3 separate regions of the Homo sapiens genome follow, and all the other regions are linked to region 3. The links are contacts of gene promoters, found by promoter capture Hi-C in blood cells and fetal thymus (Javierre and others, 2016). All regions are on one chromosome and are shown on one strand. Each heading gives the region's core, a stretch centred on a gene start or on the middle of the fragment in contact. The rest is flanking DNA. Distances are from core to core; before and after follow the strand shown. Region 1 overlaps LMTK2 (lemur tyrosine kinase 2). Region 2 has its middle 6.6 kb from the start of TECPR1. Region 3 holds the start of SLC25A13 (solute carrier family 25 member 13).

Region 1 (2,700 bases), core at 90-2,589, 1.8 Mb after region 3:
AAATGATTTATTTTGATTCAGTATGCAAAGAATCATGTCACAAAAGTAATAATATTAAAAGAATTGCTTGGCCAGGCGCTGTGGCTAACATCTGTAATCCTAACACTTTTGGAGCCTAAGACAGGAGGATTGCTTGAGATCAGCCTGGGCAACATAGGGAGACTCTGCCTCTACAAAAAAAAAAAAAATTCAAAAAATTACCTGGGCGTGGTGATGCGTGCCTGTGGTCCCAGCTACTCGGGAGGCTGAGGTAGGCGGCTCACTTGGTTCCTGGAGGTCCAGGCTGCAGTGAGCCATGATCATGCCACTGTGCTCCAGTCACTGTGCTCCAGCCAGGCAACAGAGCAAAACCTTGTCTCAAAAAAAAAAAAAAAAAGAATTGCTTAAACTGTAGTCATTTGAGAGTAAATTTTTAAGCCTAGAAAACTATTTTTGTGTAAATTCCATTGCATTTAACTTCAAACTAACAGTTTAAAAACTTACATGAAATATGTATAATTTATTTTCCTGTCTTATGTATTCTGCTGTTTGGAGTCAGAGAACAAAATTACATATGCTTTTTACTTAACATTAAGTACAAACTGGAAAAAAATAATTGTGGCAGCAAGTTCCAAATCATTGTGCAAATATGTTCCTATTTTAAATGTTAGCCAATGGTTTTTAATGCTTGCTCTCTTTCATTTTAGGAATTTGAAGATAATTTTGATGATGAGATAGATTTCACACCACCAGCAGAAGACACTCCCTCTGTTCAGTCCCCAGCAGAGGTCTTCACACTTTCAGTACCAAATATTTCACTCCCAGCTCCCTCGCAATTCCAGCCTTCTGTAGGTAAGACCATACAGCCTAATGCCACGTTTTCATGAATTGTTTCTGAGATCTGAGAATGGGAGCCTAGCCATCATAAATATTGGACTGCCCATCTCCTCTTTGGTTTATTTCTCTTCCTTCTGCTCCCAGTGAAGCTGAATTCTAGTGGTCAGGCCCATTGTATTCCTGCAATAGCTTTGTCTTCTGCTTTCTGGACCCTGGGTCTGGTATGAGAATAAAACGAATCTCCTTGATTCATTGACATTGAACACCTGGCCAGAACTCCCAGGCTCTGTTCTGGAGGTGGTTTCTCTGCTAGTTCTGGCCACGGCTGACCTTGCTGAGTAGGACTCTGCTGGCTTCCACTGGGATGCCCTGCATTTGGGTAGGAGAGGAAAGTTTGGATATGTTAATCAGATTGACTTTTCTAAGCTTCTTCAGACAGAGGTTTGGTTCTGTGTTAGTTGATGTCTTGTGAAAAAATAGAATGTGACTAGAAAAATAGAATGTGACTATAGTTTTTTTTTTTAGAGTTTGAAATTTAAGCCCTTTTTAGAGTTAGAACTTTTTGTGGTCTTAAGAAATTCTTATTCTGTGATTAAAATAATACCTTTTAAAAAATATTTTAAGCTTTTGCTTTGACCAAAGAAGTAGGTTCAAGAAGTAGGGTTTTCTGAGATTGCCGCAAGAAGGCTGTGTAAGTCTGTAGATGCTAGGACTACCTTTTCTGGTGTGACACACGCTGTGGGCTCTGCCTAGGGCAGAATAAACCCCCGAACTGATGCCACTGCAGGCAGGCATGACTATAAGAAAAAGCCAGATGGAACGTGACATAGTTGGTGCATTTCATTTAAATATTTGTAAAGTAAGAATATATTTAAATTTATAGATTTTGCAGCATTAAAAAAAACAACCTGGAGTGTTTAATTGCTGTAAATAACAATACCCCTACTCCAACCAAAATAATGAAGTTTAAAAGGAGGTCTAATATATTCTTGGGATAACTTAAGTATACTTACTCTAAATGGAAATATTTTATTGTTGCTTGTTTGATAATTTGCTTTCCTTTATACTTAAGAAAAACCTGGAGAGACTTCTCAGAGCTTTTACAGGCCCATAGTCGATCCCCGGTGGATTCATTTCAAGTAGCTGAATTCCAAATTAGATCAGCCTAAGTGGAAACGAGAATTTTCTGACACATGGACCCAGACCGTAGGAAGAACAGGGGTTCAGCTGACCTTGGAGACAGCTAGAACCAGGGCCTGGAACATCATCAGCATTTTAATTCATTTCTGATTTTCTCTTCTCTTTGCATATCTGCTGAATCTCTTAGGCAGCTTCTCTGCTCAGTAGGGAGGTTGGCTGCCAGCAGCTCCACACCCATTCCCTTGTAGTTTTATAACCATAGAGGAAAGGAGCTTCTTTCTCTCTCTCCTTGGACCAGAAAGAAAACCCTTTGGAGGGACATTCTGGTTGTCTTCACCTAAGTCACAGGATGCAGAGCCATCACTGGTCAGGAAGGTGGGGACAGACAGACAGCTTCTCTTCAGGATCTACTGGGGATGGATGGGAGCACAGTCAGATGCAGGCAGAAGAGAAATTATGGTGACCTGGGCAGCCATTGTAATTTTGTTTATATACACACCCCTTTCTGTTTTACTGAAGCCCTGTACCCTAATATCCCTCTCCGTAGGAAGAAATTATTTTAAATTTCTCTGAGTAGAATACCCTCAGAATATTTTTATCATCTTGGGATACGAGAGGCCTTTCCAAGCATGCACCAAATCCAGAATCCATAAAGGAACATACTGCCAAATCTGATTTACAAAAATGAAATATTCTGTATAGAAAAAGACACCACACACAAATTGACAGAGTCGCAAAAAATAT
Region 2 (2,700 bases), core at 24-2,523, 1.9 Mb after region 3:
ATCAGCTGGGCGTGGTGGCACGCGCCTGTAGTCCCAGCTACTCGGTAGGGCGAGACAGGAGAATCGCTTGAACCCGGGAAGCGGAGGTTGCAGTGAGCCGATATCGCGCCACTGCACTCCAGCCTGGGTGACAAGGCAAGACTCTGTCTCAAAAAAAAAAAAAAAAAGAAAGAAAAAAGAAGAAAGAAGAAAAAGAAACAAATGGTCAATAAACTTATGAAGAAGTGCTCAACTACAGCGATAAGCAGGAAAATGCAAATTAAACCCACAATGAGTTGCCTGCCAGACAGGCTAAGGGAGTAGAAGTACGAGCTGGTGCCATCACTGGGGAAATCAGTGACATGACCTCATAGAGCTGAAGCTAAGATTGTGCTGTGGCCCAGCAGTGATTTAGGTGCTGTACGTACACACCTTACCAGCATTCTCTATGTAACAACAGCCCCAGGTGTCCATCTGTAGTGGAATGCATGATCAGTGTGATGGAGTCACATTAGGTTGCTGCAAAAGGACTTGTGGTTTTGGCCATTAAAAGTAATGACAGGGTGGGTGCGATGGCTCACACCAGTTATCCCAACGCTTTGGGAGGCCGAGGTGGGCAGATCACTTGAGGTCAGGAGTTTGAGACCAGCCTGGCCAAAATGGCAAAACTCTCTGCTCAAAATACAAAAATTAGCTGGGCATGGTGGCACACACCTGTAATCCCATCTACTCAGGAGGCTGAGGCAGGAAAATTGCTTGAACCCAGGAGGTGGAGGTTGCAGTGAGATGAGATCATGCAACTACACTCCAGCCTGGGCAACAGAGTGAGACTCCGTCTCAAAAAAAAAGAAAAAAGAAAAAAAGAAAAAAGGCCAGGCATAGTAGCTCACGCCTGTAATCCTAGCACTTTGGGAGGCCGAGGCAGGTGGATCACCTGAAGTCAGGAGTTCGAGACCAGCCTGGCCAACATGGCAAAACCTCATCTCTACTGAAAATGCAAAAATTAATTGGGCATGGTGGCGCATGCCTGTAATCCCAGCTACTCAGGAGGCTGAGGCAGGAGAATCACTTGAACCCCAACGGTGGGGTGAGGTTGCAGTGAGCCAAGATCGCACCACACCACTGCACCCCAGCCTGGGTGACAGAGTAAGACTCCTCTAAAATAAATAAATAAGTAAAAGTAATGACAAAAACCACAATTTCTTTGGCACCAACCTAATACAGTGTAATATTATTGGTAACAAAACAATGAAGTACAACTAAATGCAACAACATGAATGAGTCTTGAACATACACCAAGGAGAGAAAAACCAAACACAAAAGAATATATGTGATCCCATTGACATGTGAATTTCAAAAACAGCCAAGAACTTTATTATAGTGTTTGAGAGTGTATGTTTGGTAGTAAAAGTATAAAGACGGCCAGGCGCGGTGGCTCACCCTTGTAATCCTAGCACTTTGGGAGGCCGAGGTGGGTGGATCAAAAGGTCAGGAGTTCGAGACCAGCCTGGCCAACATGGTGAAATCCCATCTCTACTAAAAATACAAAAAATTAGCTGGGAGTGGTGGTGTGCGCCTGTAATCCCAGCTATTTGGGAGGCTGAGGCAGAAGAATCGCTTAAACCCAGGGGGCAGAGGTTGCTGTAAGCTGAGATGGCGCCACTGCCCTCCAGCCTGGGCGACAGAGCGAGACTCCATCTCAAAAAAAAAAAATGTATAAAGACAAGGAGGTGATTAGCATAATGTTACAACAACCAGGATGTGGATGCCTTTGGGGCAGGAAAGGAACACAGAGGGTTGGCCGTGGCCGGCAAGATTCTCATGCTTGACCTTGGTGGTGTCAGGTTTTGCTTTACAATAATTCACAAGATTTATGTCTGATATGCTTTTCTCTGTGTCTTATGTTTTACAATTAAGGAAGGGTTTTACAAAGCACATATGGTCCAGCCTGGCCAACATAGTGAAACCTGTCTCTACTAAAAAATACAAAATTAGCTGGGCATGGTGGTGCGGGCCTGTAGTCCCAGCTACTTGGGAGGCTGAGGTGGGAGGATCACTTGAGCCTGGGAGGTGGAGCAAATCACCTAATTTTACATGAATGGGATAACTTATCAAGTGACAGCATCACACGATTTGTGTGTGTGTGTGTGTGTGTGTGTGATGGGGTCTCGCTCTGTCACCCAGGCTGGAGTGCAGTGGCATAATCATAGTTCACAGTAGCCTCAACCTCCTGGGCTCAAGCAATCCTCCACCCCCAGCCTCTTGAGGAGCTGCGAGTATAGGTCTGCACCACTATGCCTGGTTAATCCCAGCCTCTTGAGTAGCTGGGAGTATAGGTCTGCACCACCATGCCTGGCTAATTTTTTTGTTTTTTTTTTTTGAGATGGAGTTTTGCTCTCGTTGCCCAGCCTGGAGCGTGGTGGCCTGATCTTGGCTCACTGCAAACTCCGCCTTCCAGTTTCAAGCGATTCTCCTGCTTCAGCCTCCCGAGTAGCTGAGATTACAGGCGCACACAACCACGCCTTGATAATTTTTGTATTTTTAATAGAGACAGGGTTTCACCATGTGAGCCAGACTGGTCTCAAACTCCTGACCTTGTGATCTGCCGGCCTCGGCCTCCCAAAGTGCTGGGATTACAGGCGTGAGGCACCGCACCCAGCCACTAACTTTTTTTTTTTTTTTTTTGAGACGGAGTCTCACTCTGTCGCCAGGCTGGAGTGC
Region 3 (2,700 bases), core at 172-2,671:
CCAGAGTACTTTCCTAAGGATGAAACTCAGAGTAATTACAGAAAAGAGAAATGCCACTTAGACCACAGAAACTAACAACATGAAGAAGCCTACGGATTTGGGGAGCCTGGAGAGACTTAAGTCATAGAACAGCATTTAAATATATTTGTCTGCTTACAATTTCCATTGCAAATGTGATTAGTTTGCTTGAATAAATAGGAATATGATGTGTTGGCCATGTTTTCCTCTTGAGGGTTATCACAGAGTTTTGATTAAGGACAAATGTTTGAAATGTTAGGTATATTTAAGTTCACTGCACTTAAAATGAGCTAAGAAGTTGTATAGGCTTGATTAGAGGGCTGCCTTCGTGAACTTAAATTAAAAGCAATAAATTCCAAATGATTCAAGTGATTGGGACTAAATATGGTATTCTGCCAGAGAAGTTGAAATGCAGTCCAAAGAGACTGAAATGGTGTCCAGGTTTCAAGAAATGGTGAAAGAGGAAAGGTCAAGTGTTGGAGTTGCCTTTCCTCTGGGTTAGTGAATGATTCACATTACACAGAACCCCTTTCAAGTACAACTTCACAGGAGTGACAGGCTCCCAGGACAATCTGTTTCATCGTTCCCAAAAAGAAGCCTCTCAAATGCTCCGAGGCGGGTATCTAAGTGTTGTCAGATGGAGAGAGGGAGGGGGAAGATGGGAATGATGGGAAAGCGGGGAGGGGGAGAGTCCCTGGACTTTTTATTCACAAAGGCGCAGACCAAGTCTCCTAGGCAGTTTCCAAAACGGAAGTCAAAGTAACTTCCCCACCCGCGGGAGGGCGGAGCCCTTGAAACGTAATAGGATCAGGCTTCAGCCCGGGCTCTGGCCCCTGGAAGAAGCCGGAGTCAACAACCAGCGGGGTCAGGAGCAGGAGCGCGCTGGGAAGGTAGAGAGGACCCCCAGCGCTTGCCGGCCCAGGGTGCACCAGGCCCCAGTCGCGCCCGCTCCTCCTCGTCGGCCCTGGCTCAGCCCCGTCAGGCACCAACTTCCCTCCCCGGCCAAGTGGGAGTGTCCGGCCCACAAAGTTTCCGCTGCGAGGTCGGGCCTCGGTCTCTGCACCGACCGCCTGTGCTGCCCGGGAGGAGTGGCCCCCTCCCTCCAGCAGCCGCAAGGTGGAACGGCTGCCCGGCACCCCATTTTGCTCCGCCTGTGGCACCAACCCAGACACGTGAGCGCCCGAGCCTCTCGCACCCCCAGGCTGATCCGGCAGGCGCGCTCCCCCCGGCCTCGGGCCCGCGGTTACCTTGGCGGCCGCCATGATTCGCCCCGGTTGCGGGCGACTGCGGGACCCACTGACTGGCTGGCTGGCGTTTGGGACCCGGGCGGCTCACTTCTAGTCCCGGCGGCGGCGGCGGTGGGGGCGGCGATACGGCCAGGCAGCGTGCGTTCCTGGCCTGCCTCCCCACGCCCTCCCGCCGGCGCGGGTCATGTGGATGCTGCCCGCCCATTGGCTGGGCCCAGCCTTGGCCGCCGGGGTGCGCGTGATCCAGCGGCCTCTGCCCTGCAGCCGGGGAGGGCTCAGATCCTGGGGCAGTGGCTGGACAGGGACACGTGACCCCGCTGCGCTGTCCAGCAGCGGCGGCCTCTGCGGCGTGGGCAGAGGTAACTTGGCCGTGTGCAAGCCCGTCACCTGAGGGCAGGTGGCCCCACCAGGGAAGCTGCTGGCTTCTGCTGATACCAGGGGCTACTGGGCCCTCGGACCGATGGGAGGGGCAAGTAACGACAGATGGTGCACGGCCTGGGGAAGTTGAGAACTCCACTAGGACACATACTTTGCTGGATATTTTTTCCCCTGTGCGTTCCCTTTGAAGGAGCTCCACTTTACACTGGATCCAAAAAGACTTTGATCCAAAAGCATTGACTTAGAAGGCGAGATTGCAAATATTGCTGGCACGCCTACTTTTAGATCAAAATCGGTGAACTCTTAAGAACCCAACAAGTGAATGTAGTGCAGAACGTATATTCATGAAACTACTCCATTTCAGCCCTACCTGTTAAAACGGTAGAAGTCAAAAGGCCCGGGTCAAAAGACTTCCCCCAAATAGGCCCTACTAAAATAAATAAACAAGCATTTTAATGAAAATTTGCTTATATGACCTCCAGGCCTTACTCCTCTTCATCAGGATTTCATTCTTCTGTCCTTGTAATCAAAATTTATAAGACAGTGGTGATCAGGGAAAAGGACTTTTAATGTATTGTAGGTTGTGGATGTAATATGGCAGCAAAAAGCACTTATTACTAATCAGTTTAATTCATTAACGTTGATTGAGTGCCTTCCTACTATGTGCTAGGCACTGTGCTTGGTGCTGGAAACCCCGAAATGACTTAAGAACTGGTTCCAACCGTTAAACAGCTTCAGGGCTATTGGGAAAGAGACACATAAATGTTTACTTCAGTATAACCTGTTAAGGCAGCAGACTGTTCCCAGGGCTCAATAAGAATACTGAGAATTCTCATGCCACTATGAAGAAATACCTGAGACTGGGTAATTTATAAACCAAAAGATTTAATTGACTCAGTTTCGCATGGTTTGGGAGACCTCAGGAAACTTACAGTTGTGGTGGAAGGCACCTCTTTACAGGGTTGCAGGAGAGAGAATGAGTGCCAAGCAAAGGGGGGAAAGCCCCTTGTAAAACCATCAGATCTCATAAGAACTCACTATCACAAGAACAGCATGG

Evidence for each region. Contacts are between HindIII fragments. The CHiCAGO score rates a contact against its expected background, and 5 or more counts as called.
Region 1: a contact is called between a fragment that was not itself captured here and the fragment with the promoter of SLC25A13 in region 3, in 1 of 17 cell types (neutrophils). The highest score is 5.2, in neutrophils.
Region 2: a fragment that was not itself captured here is called in contact with the fragment with the promoter of SLC25A13 in region 3 in 1 of 17 cell types (neutrophils); the score reaches 6.5 in neutrophils.

Annotation. Positions count from the first base shown.
Region 1 is chr7:98,140,711-98,143,410 of GRCh38, forward strand. It overlaps LMTK2 (lemur tyrosine kinase 2), which reads left to right. Exons shown (of 14, transcript NM_014916.4): 3 at 687-831. Among named protein-coding and RNA genes, the nearest start is that of LMTK2, 35 kb to the left of the region's middle. The HindIII fragment of the contact is 198 bases long and covers 1,241-1,438 here.
Region 2 is chr7:98,257,500-98,260,199 of GRCh38, forward strand. No RefSeq gene overlaps it. Among named protein-coding and RNA genes, the nearest start is that of TECPR1, 6.6 kb to the left of the region's middle. The HindIII fragment of the contact is 4,932 bases long and covers 1-2,700 here.
Region 3 is chr7:96,320,677-96,323,376 of GRCh38, forward strand. SLC25A13 (solute carrier family 25 member 13) reads right to left here and starts at 1,422. Exons shown (of 18, transcript NM_014251.3): 1 at 1,266-1,422. The coding sequence starts at 1,280. RefSeq lists a silencer at 1,218-1,557. The HindIII fragment of the contact is 9,010 bases long and covers 1-2,700 here.